5 separate regions of the Homo sapiens genome follow, and all the other regions are linked to region 4. The links are contacts of gene promoters, found by promoter capture Hi-C in blood cells and fetal thymus (Javierre and others, 2016). All regions are on one chromosome and are shown on one strand. Each heading gives the region's core, a stretch centred on a gene start or on the middle of the fragment in contact. The rest is flanking DNA. Distances are from core to core; before and after follow the strand shown.

Evidence for each region. Contacts are between HindIII fragments. The CHiCAGO score rates a contact against its expected background, and 5 or more counts as called.
Region 1: a fragment that was not itself captured here is called in contact with the fragment with the promoter of MRPL36 in region 4 in 2 of 17 cell types (monocytes and neutrophils); the score reaches 8.4 in monocytes.
Region 2: a contact is called between a fragment that was not itself captured here and the fragment with the promoter of MRPL36 in region 4, in 1 of 17 cell types (total B cells). The highest score is 7.5, in total B cells.
Region 3: a contact is called between a fragment that was not itself captured here and the fragment with the promoter of MRPL36 in region 4, in 1 of 17 cell types (neutrophils). The highest score is 6.2, in neutrophils.
Region 5: a contact is called between a fragment that was not itself captured here and the fragment with the promoter of MRPL36 in region 4, in 2 of 17 cell types (neutrophils and monocytes). The highest score is 6.1, in neutrophils.

The regions. Positions count from the first base shown.
Region 1 is chr5:436,216-438,915 of GRCh38, reverse strand. It overlaps AHRR (aryl hydrocarbon receptor repressor), which reads right to left. Exons shown (of 11, transcript NM_001377236.1): 11 at 631-2,700. PDCD6-AHRR (PDCD6-AHRR readthrough (NMD candidate)) reads right to left here. Exons shown (of 13, transcript NR_165163.2): 13 at 631-2,700. Among named protein-coding and RNA genes, the nearest start is that of EXOC3-AS1, 5.6 kb to the left of the region's middle. The HindIII fragment of the contact is 1,212 bases long and covers 720-1,931 here.
Region 2 is chr5:204,622-207,391 of GRCh38, reverse strand. It overlaps CCDC127 (coiled-coil domain containing 127), which reads left to right. Exons shown (of 3, transcript NM_145265.3): 3 at 1,434-2,770. The coding sequence ends at 2,095. Among named protein-coding and RNA genes, the nearest start is that of CCDC127, 12 kb to the left of the region's middle. The HindIII fragment of the contact is 337 bases long and covers 1,332-1,668 here.
Region 3 is chr5:601,344-604,043 of GRCh38, reverse strand. It overlaps CEP72-DT (CEP72 divergent transcript), which reads left to right. Exons shown (of 3, transcript NR_103444.1): 3 at 1,200-1,875. It overlaps LOC105374608 (a long non-coding RNA gene), which reads right to left. Exons shown (of 8, transcript XR_007058672.1): 2 at 2,534-2,700; 3 at 1-27. Among named protein-coding and RNA genes, the nearest start is that of CEP72-DT, 9.5 kb to the left of the region's middle. RefSeq lists enhancers at 282-782, 783-1,283. The HindIII fragment of the contact is 3,558 bases long and covers 1-2,700 here.
Region 4 is chr5:1,798,395-1,801,094 of GRCh38, reverse strand. It overlaps MRPL36 (mitochondrial ribosomal protein L36), which reads left to right and starts at 1,258. Exons shown (of 2, transcript NM_032479.4): 1 at 1,258-1,303; 2 at 2,148-2,700. The coding sequence starts at 2,160. The coding sequence ends at 2,471. RefSeq lists enhancers at 59-188, 249-298 and a silencer at 1,379-1,788. The HindIII fragment of the contact is 7,489 bases long and covers 1-2,700 here.
Region 5 is chr5:265,676-268,379 of GRCh38, reverse strand. It overlaps a transcript of SDHA not described here. Among named protein-coding and RNA genes, the nearest start is that of PDCD6-DT, 4.5 kb to the left of the region's middle. The HindIII fragment of the contact is 7,069 bases long and covers 1-2,704 here.

The DNA.
Region 1 (2,700 bases), core at 76-2,575, 1.4 Mb after region 4:
GGAGGGCTGGCCTGGTCCTGGGGGAGGACACGGGAGTCTTACACGAGTGACCAGGACGGGTTTGCTGATGGGCTGCAGGGTGCGAAGGAGGCCTGGCAGGGGCTGCGCAGGCTCTAAAGATGCCTGAAAGGAAACAAAAGCGCAGCTCCCTGGGCCTTGGACTGCCGTTTGTGCTTAAGGAGACCCCAGCACTTTTTTCGATGGCATTGAGGGGTCTGGCCGTAATCTGCCTGGGCCCTTCCCCCTTCCCATGGGCTTGTCGTGCAGGCCCTGTGCCAGGCAGGGTGGACCCCGCATGGCCCCGGACCCACAGTGCCCTCAGCTCTACCCTCCTCACTTCTTACAGGACGGGTCAGGTCTGGGACGTCCTGAGAGCACCCAGGAGGGGCCCTGACCCTCAGTGACAGGGGAGGGGGGCCTAGGCCCTCTCTAGATGCCACTGGTCAGGAGCAGGGAGATGGCAGGCATTTTCTCCTCCTTCACGAGGCTTGCGGCTCTAGAGTTTTTATTTTTATTGCTGCCTTATATTTAGTGGTGAAAGGCTGTCTTAGAATGTAGATTAACCAGCACACTCTTTAAAGGAAATAAAGTGACTTTGGAAAATCACGCAGACTTCCGCAAACATTTAAATTTTTGTTAAACATGTACTAGCATGTCATGTATTTTACATCAATATTGCAAATTTAATACAAACCACAGTACAAAAAAATTTGAAAGCTTCCTAAAGGCACTGAGAAAGCAGTAGAGAAAGTTGCATTTATAGTGCATAAGTTTTAAAAATTCAACAAGTTGGTCTAGGTATTGAAAACTTTTTTCTTCCAGTAGAAACTGCAAAAATATAAGTTGTATTGATCTCCTCCCTTCCATCCCATTCCCACCTTATATTTGACTTTAATACTTTTTCAGCTATATAGGGAAAAGCTACATACACAGAAAAACATGAACCTGTAATTAGTGCTAACAATGACATTTTAGAGAGAAGTGATACATCCACACTTTCTATGTTCCATAGTCTTCCCCACTGTTTTCCAAGAGGGTTGTGGCTATAAAATAACCAAAGTGCTGACTTGGGGAGTTTTTGTTGCCGTTGAGGAAGGGATGTCGGACACCTCGCTGATCCCAGGCTCTCAGGGCCGCAGCCTCCTGTAGGGTCCCCACACCACAAAACCGGCAGAGCCAACACCCACGTGCTGAGTGCAGCGTCAACACAGCGTGGCCTGCCTGGCAGCAACCCACCACTCAATCTGGCACCTGTCACCAGGAGGGCCTTGGGCAGGGGCGCATCTAAAGGTCTGGGAGGCTGCAGGGCAGGACGTGGTGAAGAAGCCTCCTGGGCAGGGGCTGCCGTCTGTGCTTAAGGAGGCCCCAGTGCTCCTTTGATGACACTGAAGGGCCTGGCTACAATCGCAAACACGCAGCCACGTCTCTGATTCGATCTTTGGGGCCTGGTGTTTTTCCCAGTGACAGCCGTTGGCTCCAGGACACTCAAGACATGTGATACACAAGACTCTCAGTCACTGAGCTCCCTGCCCTCCTCGGCCCCGAGACTGGAAGAGCAGCTGCCACGTTTGGGACCCAGGCGGCGCCCAGGCTGAAGGGAGCTGCTGAGGGCTAAGCTCCAGGACACAGGACGTGGCTGGCCCTCAGAACAGGGAACTCCAAGAGTGGAACATGCATGTTGATTGAGACTTTTTCAGGGATACAGCAGATCTGATTTTTAATTATTTTTTGTAGAGACACATTCTTCCTGTGTTGCCCAGGCTGGTCTTGAACTCCTGGGCTTAAGCGATCCTCCTACCTTGACCTCCTAAAGTGCTGGGATTATAGGCATGAGCCACTGCGCCTGGCCTGCAGGCCTAATTATTAAGGGTCTTTCCATGATCAGCAAAGGAGCTGGGCACTCGGTTAGAATAGGAAGGAAGTGGGAAGCTTCTGAAATACCATCCTGGTCTTAAATCCATAAATGCCCAGAGGCCAGAAGTGTGCCATGCTCAGCATGAGAAATGAATAAAGAGGGGCTCTGTGCCAGTGTAGGGCCAAAGTGGGAAGTAGGCGCCAGTCCTCAGGTGCCTGGTCTTCACAGGTGCCTGCTCTCCACAGGTGACTGACCCTCAGGTGGCTGGTCACCCCATGGCTGGCCCCTGGGTAGCTCTGTCCCCATCGTGACTTTAGGCATCAGATAAGGGAGAGATGGCAGTGGAAGGCCATGAGCACGTCTCACACCCACGACAGCACAGCATGGAGGTCACCTTTTGAAAGACGCCCCCTGGCTAAGCAGAGAGTGAGTGCCCCCTCGGTAGGGCTTGGGGGTCATAGGGGGCCACGATGGATCTGTGACTCTGGGCTCAGATGGTTGGCTGTTCTCTTCCAGTACTGAGAGGAGATCCTTATCCCTATCCCTGCCACATGGGGGCAAACTGTCCAAGAACCAGGCCACTGAGAGGCGCAGGCACCTGGCATTGGGCAGAAGACCCAGTCCTGCCAACCAAACCTGGGTTTTGACAAAGTGAAGGTGCGTTTAACAAATGGGTCCAGCATTAAACCAGCATCTAAGTAAGCACTGACACCTCAAAGCCACTGACAACAGAGAGGGCGTCCACACAGGAGGCAGAATGCACAGTGCGGCGGGGTGGTGGGTCCCTAGGGGTGGTGGGTCCCTCACCCGCGGGCCAACAACAGAGAGGGCGTCCACACGGGAGG
Region 2 (2,770 bases), core at 251-2,750, 1.6 Mb after region 4:
CGTTGTAACAGCTTCTTTCCTGGTCAGGCCCCTGCCTGTGAGCTCTCGTCAAAGGGAGGAGATAAAGGTGACGTGAGTTTGAGTTGTCATCTGAAGTAGGACTAGCAGCTATTTTTGGTTGAGGAAGGATGAGTTTGGTTTTGTGCTTACTCAGTGAAGTGTCAACAGCATATCCAAGGGGGACTGGCTTTCAGGCTAATGGAAATCTTGCTGTTATGGAATTGCTCCCACAAAGGTCATTCATGACCCGGGAGAAAAGCAAAGGTGACCATTAATGACCTGGAAGAAAAAGGTGACCATTAATGACCCGGGAGAAAATAATTGAATGTCAAGGACACCACCTGGGTTGGGGGAGGCAGCAGGAGGAGGAAGAGAACCATTAAAGTTGATAGAAACTCCAGTGGTTCTAGAAGGGGCTGCAGACGAGGGAGTCCCACAGTTAGTAGGGGAGGGGTTACAGGATAGAAGCACACGAGGGAACCCAGACTGCTGCTCTCAGTGGCTTTTGGGGCCTTGGGCTTTGAAAATTTGCCAAACAGTTCTGTTTTCCAGAAGACTCAACTCCGTGCTGCTTTTAGAATGTACAAGCAGAACACGTCGCTGTTTGGAAAACTAAGACTTAGCATGCAGTTGCTCCAACATGCATGAAATTATTGAGCAGCATCAGTTCGGAATGTGGATGGAACTGTTATCACACGGTCTTTTTTTATTGTTGAAACACATCCAACTCTTACTTGTGGGATGGACAAAGGGTTGGTGGCTCTATACGGAGCCAGGTGCCTGCTGGCCAGCAGGCTGTGTGAGTCATCCGGTCTTAGAGGCGCTGGATTTCTCTGCAGTGCAGGCCAGCCCTGCTGCTCCTTGGTGTAGGGGGCAGAGCCGGGCAGTGCCCCCTCCAGCCTCCCAGCAATCTTCGTCCCGTTTTCGTGAGATTCCAGCAGTCTCCAGTTTGAGGAAAGAGGCCCACTGTGTCTTGAGGCTGAACTTCTTAACCCACTTTATTTTTATGTGTCCTTATCAGAACATAAGCAGTGTCTCAAACTCAGGCCGTTTACTAGTCGCCACCGGGCAAAGCTAAATACAACTTTTATAAGAACCTGGCCAACGGTAGTTGAAGTCGACCCAAACATTTTAAACTTTGCCAATTGTACTAGAGCCGGAGCAGGCAAATGGTGGTAGATCTTCTTAGCAACAAACAGTTAGAAGACGGAAAGGGCTAGGGTTAGGGTCTTTTGGTCACCCAGCCCTTACCTGGTTTTCAGATAAGAACTTGGCCTGTTACACATTTTCACGTAGAAGTGATCTTCTTGGTACAGCCGAGGTCTTAAGCTTTTACTGAAACACTATCCTTAGCTGCCTTATGATTTAAGTGAGGATTATAGAACTTCAGCCCTAACTTTTTCATTATGTGTATTTTTCTTCATTCATGTCAGGTTGGATTTGGTCTAGGGAGTCCCAGAAAGAAGTAGAAAAAGAGAGAGAAGCCTACCGTCGGAGAACTGCTGCTTTTCAACAGGATCTGGAAGCCAAGTACCACGCCATGATCTCAGAAAATCGGCGTGCTGTCGCTCAGTTGTCCTTGGAACTCGAAAAGGAACAAAACAGAACTGCTAGTTACCGAGAAGCCCTTATCTCTCAGGGACGCAAGTTGGTAGAAGAAAAGAAGCTTCTGGAACAGGAACGGGCCCAGGTGATGCAAGAAAAAAGACAGGTGCAGCCTTTGAGAAGTGCGTATTTGAGCTGCCTGCAAAGGGAAGAAAACTGGCAAAGGAGAGCCAGGCTTTTGCTGAAAGAATTTGAAGCTGTTCTCACAGAAAGACAGAATATCTACTGCAGTCTGTTTCTTCCTCGCAGCAAGCGGCTGGAGATAGAGAAGAGCTTACTGGTGCGAGCGTCCGTCGACCCCGTCGCCGCTGACCTAGAGATGGCAGCCGGTCTCACCGACATATTTCAGCATGATACATACTGTGGTGATGTCTGGAACACCAACAAACGCCAGAATGGCAGACTCATGTGGCTCTATCTCAAATACTGGGAACTCGTTGTCGAACTGAAGAAGTTTAAGAGAGTAGAGGAAGCCATACTAGAAAAGTAAGACAAGAGTGAAATCAAACTGCTTTTAGTGACTCGAGGCCAGGCAGTCATGCGCCTTCTGGGTCTCCGGCGTCTTCCGTTCCCGTGCTGCCCGTGTCATGGCCACACCGTCACCCTTCAGCAGCGACCTCCACTCCCGCCACCGTCTGAGCAGAAGTGCACCGAAGCCTCAGAGACAGAGGGTCTCCTCCCGATGCTCTGCCGCTGTTGGGGATATGGTTTCTTGAAGCATTTTTAGGCTGCCAGTATTGTATTAAGCAGAACAGTATAACCTCGTATTTTAGCTCCAGGGTAAAAATGGTTTTTTAAAAAGTCAAATACAATACTGGTCCTTACCACAAGTAATTTTCTGTCTGTTTCATCACTCCCTAAATACTTTCTCCTCAAATTATTTTTCTCTGTCACCAGATTACATTAAGAATTTGTCAGATAATGTGTAGAACTGCATAACAGGTAATAGGAAGTAGTAATATTATATTATCAAGGGTTTATATTTTAAAGATCTCTCTCACTCCATAAAGGGGAAATACCAAGTGTTTCTTGTATCCAGTTGTTACTTAATGTGTGTTTGTTGTATGCAGTTGTTACCTAATGTGTGTTTGTTGTATGCAGTTGTTACCTAATGTGTGTGTGTTGTATGCAGTTGTTACCTAATGTGTGTGTGTTGTATCCAGTT
Region 3 (2,700 bases), core at 10-2,509, 1.2 Mb after region 4:
GTCACTGCTGCTAGGACTAGACTGTGGCTAAGAGAAAGAAAACACAACAGCTGAGTGACTGTTGCACCCAATGCCTTCCTGTGGACCCTGGCATCTGCCGAGGTGGCGGGCAGAGCTTAGGTGGCGCGGGCACAGCTTAGGTGGCACAGGCACGTGTGCAGGTGCCCGTAACAAGGCCTGGAAGGAGGCTGTGCCTGCCCAGCGGAGGGACCCCCTTTCTCTGTGGGGAGATAGAGCCCCGGGAGGGGGCAGGAGCTGGAGCATGGGAGTGGCTGGGGCTGCGGAGGGGAGCTCTGGAGGACCCCACCTTCCCAGGGCTAGGACAGAGGGAGCCGGCTGCTGGGGACGTCCCTCCATCTGCTCAGACAGAGGGAGCTGGCTGCTAGGGACGTCCCTCCGTCTGTTTGGACACAGGGAGCTGGCTGCTGGGGACGTCCCTCCGTCTGCTCGGACAGAGGGAGCTGGCTGCTGGGGACGTCCCTCCGTCTGCCTGGTGTCCAGCCTGGCCTGAGTCCAGGTCCGAGCAGTCTGTGTGGATGAAGGAGCGGGTTGGGATGGGGAATAAACAAAAGCCTGAAATGTAATCAGCCGGCTTCGCAGCTATGGCGAGCGGGCAGGCCTCCTGCATCCTGGTAGTCAGCACTGAGCCCGCTGGAGCCAGCCTTGTCCTCAGAGGCAGCACCGGGAGAATGCAGTGCAGGTGACAGGGGACCTTTGCTGCCCAGAGGCATGTGGTCTATTGGCTGCACGTTTGTGCTCCTGCAGGAGTCACGGGTGGAACCCCAACCCCAGTGCTGCGGTGTGTGGAGTGGGGTCCTCCCAGTGGGATCAGTGCCCTCATAGGAGAGGGCTGCCCTCCCCTTTCTCTGTCGCACCGGGAAACCAGGAAGGGCCCTCACTAGGAGGCCAGTCAGCTGGTGCCAGGATCTCCGGCTTCCACCCCAGAGTGGTGGGAGCTTCCTGTGTCTGCTGCTCAACAAACCTATGTCTGCTGCTCGGGTTGCCCGTGTGTGGTTTTCTGCTATGGCCACCTGAGCTGATTAAGACCTCCCCCAAAATCTGTGCAAAACCCCAGCGCTTCGAATGTCACCTCTGAGGCAAAAGCTGTGATAAACATAGGGATCTTAAGAGGTGCTTTTCCTGGGTTATCGGGGGGTGGGGCCTGGGGGTCTAAATGCATTCACCAATGTCCTTCTAAGAGACAGAAGAGAGACACAGAGAGAAGAGGCACAGAGGAGCCGGCCATGGAGCGATACAGCAGAAGCTGGAGGCGACGGGAGGATCCTGGCCCAGAGCCTCGGGAGGGAGTGGGGGCCGTGTTCCAGAAGCCTGAGAGTCCTGCGTGTTGTTCTGAGCCCCTAAGGCTGGGGTAGCTTGTTCCAGCAGTCATGGGAAACTGACACATCCCAAACACAGCAGCACGAGAACATAGGACTGAGACACCATCCCCATCACGCCCCAACACACGAAGACTGACGGTGGCGGGTGCTGCACATCTCAGCCGGAGCTCTGAAGGCATTTAGCTGAGCGCTGGCCTGCACCTGGAGAGAGTGAGAGACACCAGCCTCCACTGCCAGGAAGGCCCAGGGTCCTCAGGGACCAAGACGCAGGAGACGGCCGCTGCCAGGGTCCTCGGGACTTCTGTGTGGCCTTCGCTACCGGAGCCCTGAGGCGCCATCCCCATGTGCCCTTCGGGCTGGTCCAGGAGGAGGCCCTGCGGCGGCCACAGACTGGGGGGACAAAGCCCCAGGAACTCAGAACCTTGTGGGTTTTGGAAGAGGAGCCGCGCAGCAAGGTCCCGACGCCTGCAGGGAGCTGAACGGGGAGCCGCGCGAGGAAGGGAGTGCAGCAGACCCAGTACGCAAATGCTGACCCTACAAAACGCACCGCGGGTTCTCGAGCCGTGGGGATCCCGGCGGTGCTCTCCAGAGACCGCAGCTGCAGGAGCTGGGCGGTCCCCGGCAGGTGCCACGAGGGTGCGATCTCGGCCGAGAACCACCAGGCGTCCACGTCCACGGAGGGACTCATTCTCCGTGCCCATCTCACAGGGAGCAAAGGAGGCGGAGGGAGCCCCGGACTCACTGGGTTCTGACCCAGACCCTTCTCTTCTGCAGGGTGGAGTCCTCCTCCCAGAGAAGCCCAGACGTTCGTTTGGGAGACCCAGGGACACTCGGGGCCATCACCTGCCCCTCACTGGGGCTCCCAGGGGAGACTTCACGCAGTGCCCAGTGTCCTCCCGCTGGGATCCTCCTGCCCCCGAGGGGCGCCCGTGTCCCCCAGCACCCCAAGGAAGAGAATGAGCTGTCTTTGGCGGGTGCTGTGCTATTTTCTGTCCTTATTTCACCTAGAATGGCCATTTCCAGAACTCAATCCCTGCAAATGAATTTCTTCTAACGCCCCTTTTCAGTATCAAGGAGCAGGAAGCAATATCCTTTAAAAACCGATCGGCCATACATTTCTGCTCATTAAATAAATATTTTTACTTTGGACCCGATTGATTTTTCAGACACACGGAACAATGGGACTGACTCACCTGTGTGCAGCTGGGAGCCTCCTTCCTCCCCGGGGACCTTTGAAGTCACAGTGAGGCGGCCACACCTGGTGCACAGGTGGAGCCCGGCCGATAGGCACCTGAATTCTCACCAACTTCACAGGGTGTTCAGAAACGGGCTCGCACTCGGCCGACACGCCCCCTTCCTG
Region 4 (2,700 bases), core at 9-2,508:
TGATGAGGCAGGCAATGGTGTGCGAAACCTTCAGCGATTAGGAGTACCCAGTGGTTCTTATTTAGCGGACAGGCAGGGGAGGATGTAAACTGAAAATACATTGTTTATATTCTTATGGTAACCGATAATCATGAGACATTTAAATATCAAAATTATTGGGTGAAGGAGTCAACTGCTTAGCAGACGAGACTGGAAGTGCATTCTCCTCGTTCAAGGCAAGCGTTCCTGTGTGTGGTTACGGGGAGCCGCAGAGGAAACGTATATTGGGGATTTCTGCAACAAAGCCTAGTACACCGACTGATTTTACAGCATGCAAATACAGCCTCTAAAAAGGCCCGTTTTGCTTAGAGTTGACTTGGGTATAAATCCCAGCTTAAGCTCCAGCATCCAGCTTTTCTTTTGCTGTGGTCAGAGCCTGAGGACCACGTGACTCCAAGAACAAAACACTAGAGATGGATGAGTGGCGGGGAAGATGATAAAGAGGAGGAAAGGCATGAGAAACAAGAATGCACATGAAAACCTCCGGTCCCAAAGATGTCCCAGCAAACGTGGTGGTCAGAGGCAGATTTGTCCTGGAGCTGATAAACTCCAGCGGCCCGCCCGGTGTTCGCCGGGTCAGGTGGAAAAAGTGGGCGCTGCGATGAAGCGTTGGGGCCTGCAGGGAGCGCGGAGTGGACGCAGCCACGTCTGCAACTCACCCGGACACACACAAAAAGGAAGGCGAATGGAGTTACGGGTAGATACCTGAAAAGGCAGGGATAAGCGAGCTAAGGGTAGAATCTAGGTGGCAAGTATATGGGTGTTCACCGTACAGTTCTTTCCCTTTTTCTCTATGTCCGAAGTTTTTCATAATGTTGGGGAAAACAGCCGTAACCAGTTGAAACTACTGCCCGTCTCCACTCGTTTCCCGGAGCCTGTTTACATTTCTCCTGTCCACTTAAAAACATGTCCTCTTTCTCAGTTTGTTTTGACATTGGTATTTGCCAGTTTTTTCTAAGGCCTAAGTGGTTGTAATTTCTTTTTCGTTGCGGATATCCATTTTCGTTCCTGGTTTTTGCATTTTTTTTCCCGAGAGCGCTCCAAACAGCACGACGATCCCGGTGGCCCGCAGAGTGCGCGCAGTCGGGGAGTGATACGTCGCACTCCAGCGCCTGCGCACTCGCTGCTGCGTCTCTGCGCCCCGCACTGGACGTGGGCACGCCACGTGACCCCCCCCCCCGCCGCCATCTTCCTTCCTGGCAGCAGCGTCCGCGTGCCAGTGCGCAGACGCAGGGGTCGGCGCCGGGTGAGAGCGTGCGGCCGGGTAAGGGAGCCGTCTTCTCAGGTCAGGGGTCCCGGGTGTCTTGAGAGTGGGGGCTGCGAGAGGGTGGGGCCGGCCACCTTGGGACCCTCGGGCGTGTCTCCCCGAGTGGGCTGCGGTCAGAGGAGCGTGGGCCGGGGCCTGGCGGTCTCAGAGGGCCAGGGTTGGGGGGTGCGGGTCCGACCGTGGGCGCCCGACCTGGCGACAGGAGGGGGTGTCCAGCGACCCCGGGGCGGGAGAACTGGCGGCTCCCGAACGCGACCTCACAGCCCGCGCGCAGGGCCGGCTCCGGTGCCGCAGTGTCCTCCGGGCCCTGCAGGCCCAGCTCTTCCCAGCCGGGGCCGCTGAACCCTAAGGGCCGGGGCGCGTGGGGAAGCAGGGGCGGGCGACCGGGGTGCCAGAGTTCCGTGCTCTTCCGGAGCGGGGGCCTGTCCCGAAACTGGCCCGAGGGAGGGCCCCTGGGTCTGGGAAGAGTTGGAGGGAGGAGCTCATCAGTTGAACCGTCCTTGACCTGGTGTCTGTTTGGAAAGGGATGCGGCCTAAGTTTAAGCTCCCTCCCAGCCAAGTGAGCGGCTCCTCAACATCGCAGGGCTTTGCACACTCACCTACACTTGCAGCAGGCGGGAAAGGGAAGGAAGCCACCGTCCACTGCCCCTTATTCTCCTGGCACACTTGGCTGATTAAGGCAGTGTTCAAGCTCAGGTCGAGGCTGCAGCTGGTATGGGAACACCCTCAGTCCCCGAGGTCCCTGCCTTCCCAAGCCTCAGTGAAACAGAGAAAAGGAAGCCTTAAAGAGCAGGTGGAAGTGCAGGAGAAGCTATAACTCCTTTTTTTCTCTCTCCCATAGATTCACCACAACATGGCAAATCTTTTTATAAGGAAAATGGTGAACCCTCTGCTCTATCTCAGTCGTCACACGGTGAAGCCTCGAGCCCTCTCCACATTTCTATTTGGATCCATTCGAGGTGCAGCCCCCGTGGCTGTGGAACCCGGGGCAGCAGTGCGCTCACTTCTCTCACCCGGCCTCCTGCCCCATCTGCTGCCTGCGCTGGGGTTCAAAAACAAGACTGTCCTTAAGAAGCGCTGCAAGGACTGTTACCTGGTGAAGAGGCGGGGTCGGTGGTACGTCTACTGTAAAACCCATCCGAGGCACAAGCAGAGACAGATGTAGACCCTTTCCCTCCAGAGTCACGCACATACTCGTCATCGCATCACTTGGGAGAATGGTTGTATCTTATGGAAGGAATTATCACATCAAGGAGTCAGGGGAAAGTGACTGGAAGCAAACGCCCTAAAAGTTACCCATCACGTTTCAGTGTAAATGAGTAACTATAGAAGACATTGCGTTATCTTATTTCCAAAACGTTCCAACTAAAAAACATTTTCCTATTAAAATAGAC
Region 5 (2,704 bases), core at 28-2,527, 1.5 Mb after region 4:
AAACCTCGTCTCTACTAAAAATACAAAAAATTAGCCAGACGTGGTGGCAGGTGCCTGTAATCCCAGCTACTTGGGAGGCTGAGGCAGGAGAATGGCGTGAACCCGGGAGGCGGAGCTTGCAGTGAGCCGAGATTGCACCAGGCACTCCAGCCTGGGCAACAGAGTGAGACTCCGTCTCAAAAAAAAAAAAAGAAAGAAAAAACACCCTGCGTGCATACTCATATGAATGTACAAATGGATGAGTCTAGAACAAGAGATACTAGCCTGTTACATACACAAACTATGCAGCTGCAGTCCCTGCTGCTTCTACAACCCTGACCTCTAAGAAACCTCTAGCTCTGAATCCTGTCAGTACCTGGGCTGTGCTGCTTGGGACAACATTGTCTTCACAAGTCCTCTCCACATTCTCAGAGGTGGGGGTATTGCCAATGATGGGGGTTGCTGCCTGAGTCCCGTCACCAGGGGACAAAGCTACAGCAGAGACCACCATCTGCCAACAAAAAGAGAGATCATCTCCCACCCCTGGTTCTGCTGACCCAATCACTGGAAGCATCAAGGCACCACTATCTCCTCATCTGCCTCAGATTCAATTTCCTCCTAGCCAGGTCTGTTCTAAGCTCTCCAGAAGTTGAGAAATTAACTGAAAGATAACACTTTCCTCCCTGCATTAAGGTTCATCACATAATGTATCCAAATACTGGGTCAGTCTTTCCTTTGGTCTCGTTTCTCTCAGCTAATTTGAAAATGCCTTTTCTGTTTTCATTAGAATTTTTCTAAATGTTTCTGGGCACTTGTGTTCCTGAGGCTTTCCATAGTGCACCCTCTTATGCATCTGATGTCTTTGGCACATATAGGCCCTCAACAAGTATTTGTTAAATGAACAGATAACCATCCTGTCCTTTGTGTGAACAAGCATATGCAAGTGTACATTGTATCTGTACATGTATCCAACAGCATCCATCTGAAGCCACTTTGTTCGCTTATTTTCTCAGGATGACTGATGGCTGCATCATGACATTTGCACACAGAATCTTTTCTTCTCCAGTCACTTTTCCTTTTTCCAGATTCCCGCCATAGAATTCCAGGGACAGAGCCAACCATGCCTGGCACCCCCTCCTGTCCTGGGACAATGATACTTTCTCCCGTGACTCCCATCTTCCTTCCAACATTCTTCTGCTAGAATTCAGTAAGGAAGACAATGACTTACCACTTTTAATTTTTTCCCCTTTTTTGCTTTTCTACCAAATACTGCTTTTAACACAGGCTTTTCACTGAGTAGTGGACAATCTATCAGCTAGGTGCTATTCAGTGTGAGGGGCATTTGCAAAGGTCTGCATCAGTGCTGGCTGATGGAACTTTCTAGTGATAGCATCATTCTGTAGCTGCACTGTCCAGTGCAGAGGCTACTTGCCACTGTGGCTACTGCTCAGGATGGTGCAGGTCTGAATATCTTAGACACAGCGGCCACCGTGTCTACTGCACGGGACTGAATATTTTAGACACAGCGGCCACCGTGTCTACTGCACGGGACGGCGAGGGTCTGAATATCTTACAGACAGCGGCCACCGTGTCTACTGCACGGGACGGCGAGGGTCTGAATATCTCAGACACAGCGGCCACGGTGTCTACTGCACGGGACGGTGCAGGTCTGACTGTCTTAGACACAGCTCACCTTTGATCCGTGTTAGGAATTATCCACATCTCCTCTCTGGGCAATATTCTACTTTCTTTTTATATTGACCCAATTATTTTACTTCTTTGGTGTGTCCTTTCTCCTCACACACATGGGTTCACTTTAAAACCTTGAAACCCACATTTATAAAACATTTTCAATATGAAACATCGTTCCATGACTCATATAGTACTCCATGGAGTACTATAAACATTTACATTTCCAGACCACCCACTGCCCAGTGGTTTTCCTGGTCTCAGTACTCATGAAAATGGTCTGAAGGTTTGTTTTGGGTTCCTAAGCAGTAGACACACACACAACACTGCCTGTCAGTTATTTCTTGGAAACTAAATCAGCCCTTCTGTTGCCATCCTATCATGCTTCAGGGGTGCCTGTGCTAGTTTTTAATTCTTTGTCCTAACACTTAAATGTTTGCTCAAACGCCCATATTAATACTTCCTCTTAGTTTACAAAAGGATTTACTTTCTTACTGGTTGGGATGAAGCTGCCTGAGGTTGCCACCTGTTACTTTTCCTTCATTTATTGGACCAAGTCATCCCATTACATGTCAGCTGTGGAGGTTTTCAAACTGTGGTCCCTGGACATGTTAGAAATGCAAATTCTCAGGCCGAACCAGGACTGAACCGGAAGATCTGGGGTAGGGTCCCTCCAGGACTGAATCGGAAGGTCTGGGGTGGGGTTCCCCCAGGACTGAATCGGAAGATCTGGGGTAGGGTCCCCCCAGGACTGAATCGGAAGATCTGGGGTAGGGTTCCCCCAGGACTGAATCGGAAGGTCTCGGGTAGGGTCCCTCCAGGTGATCCTGTTACACAGGTTAGAGAACCACAGCATTGGGGTGGCAATTTGACAACTCTTTTTTTTTTTTTGAGACAGAATCTCGCTCTTGTTGCCCAGGCTGGAGTGCAATGGCGCACTCTTGGCTCACTGCAACCTCCGCCTCCCGGGTTCAAGCAACTCTCCTGCCTCAGCCTCCTGAGTAACTGGGATTACATGCACCCACCATCATGCCTG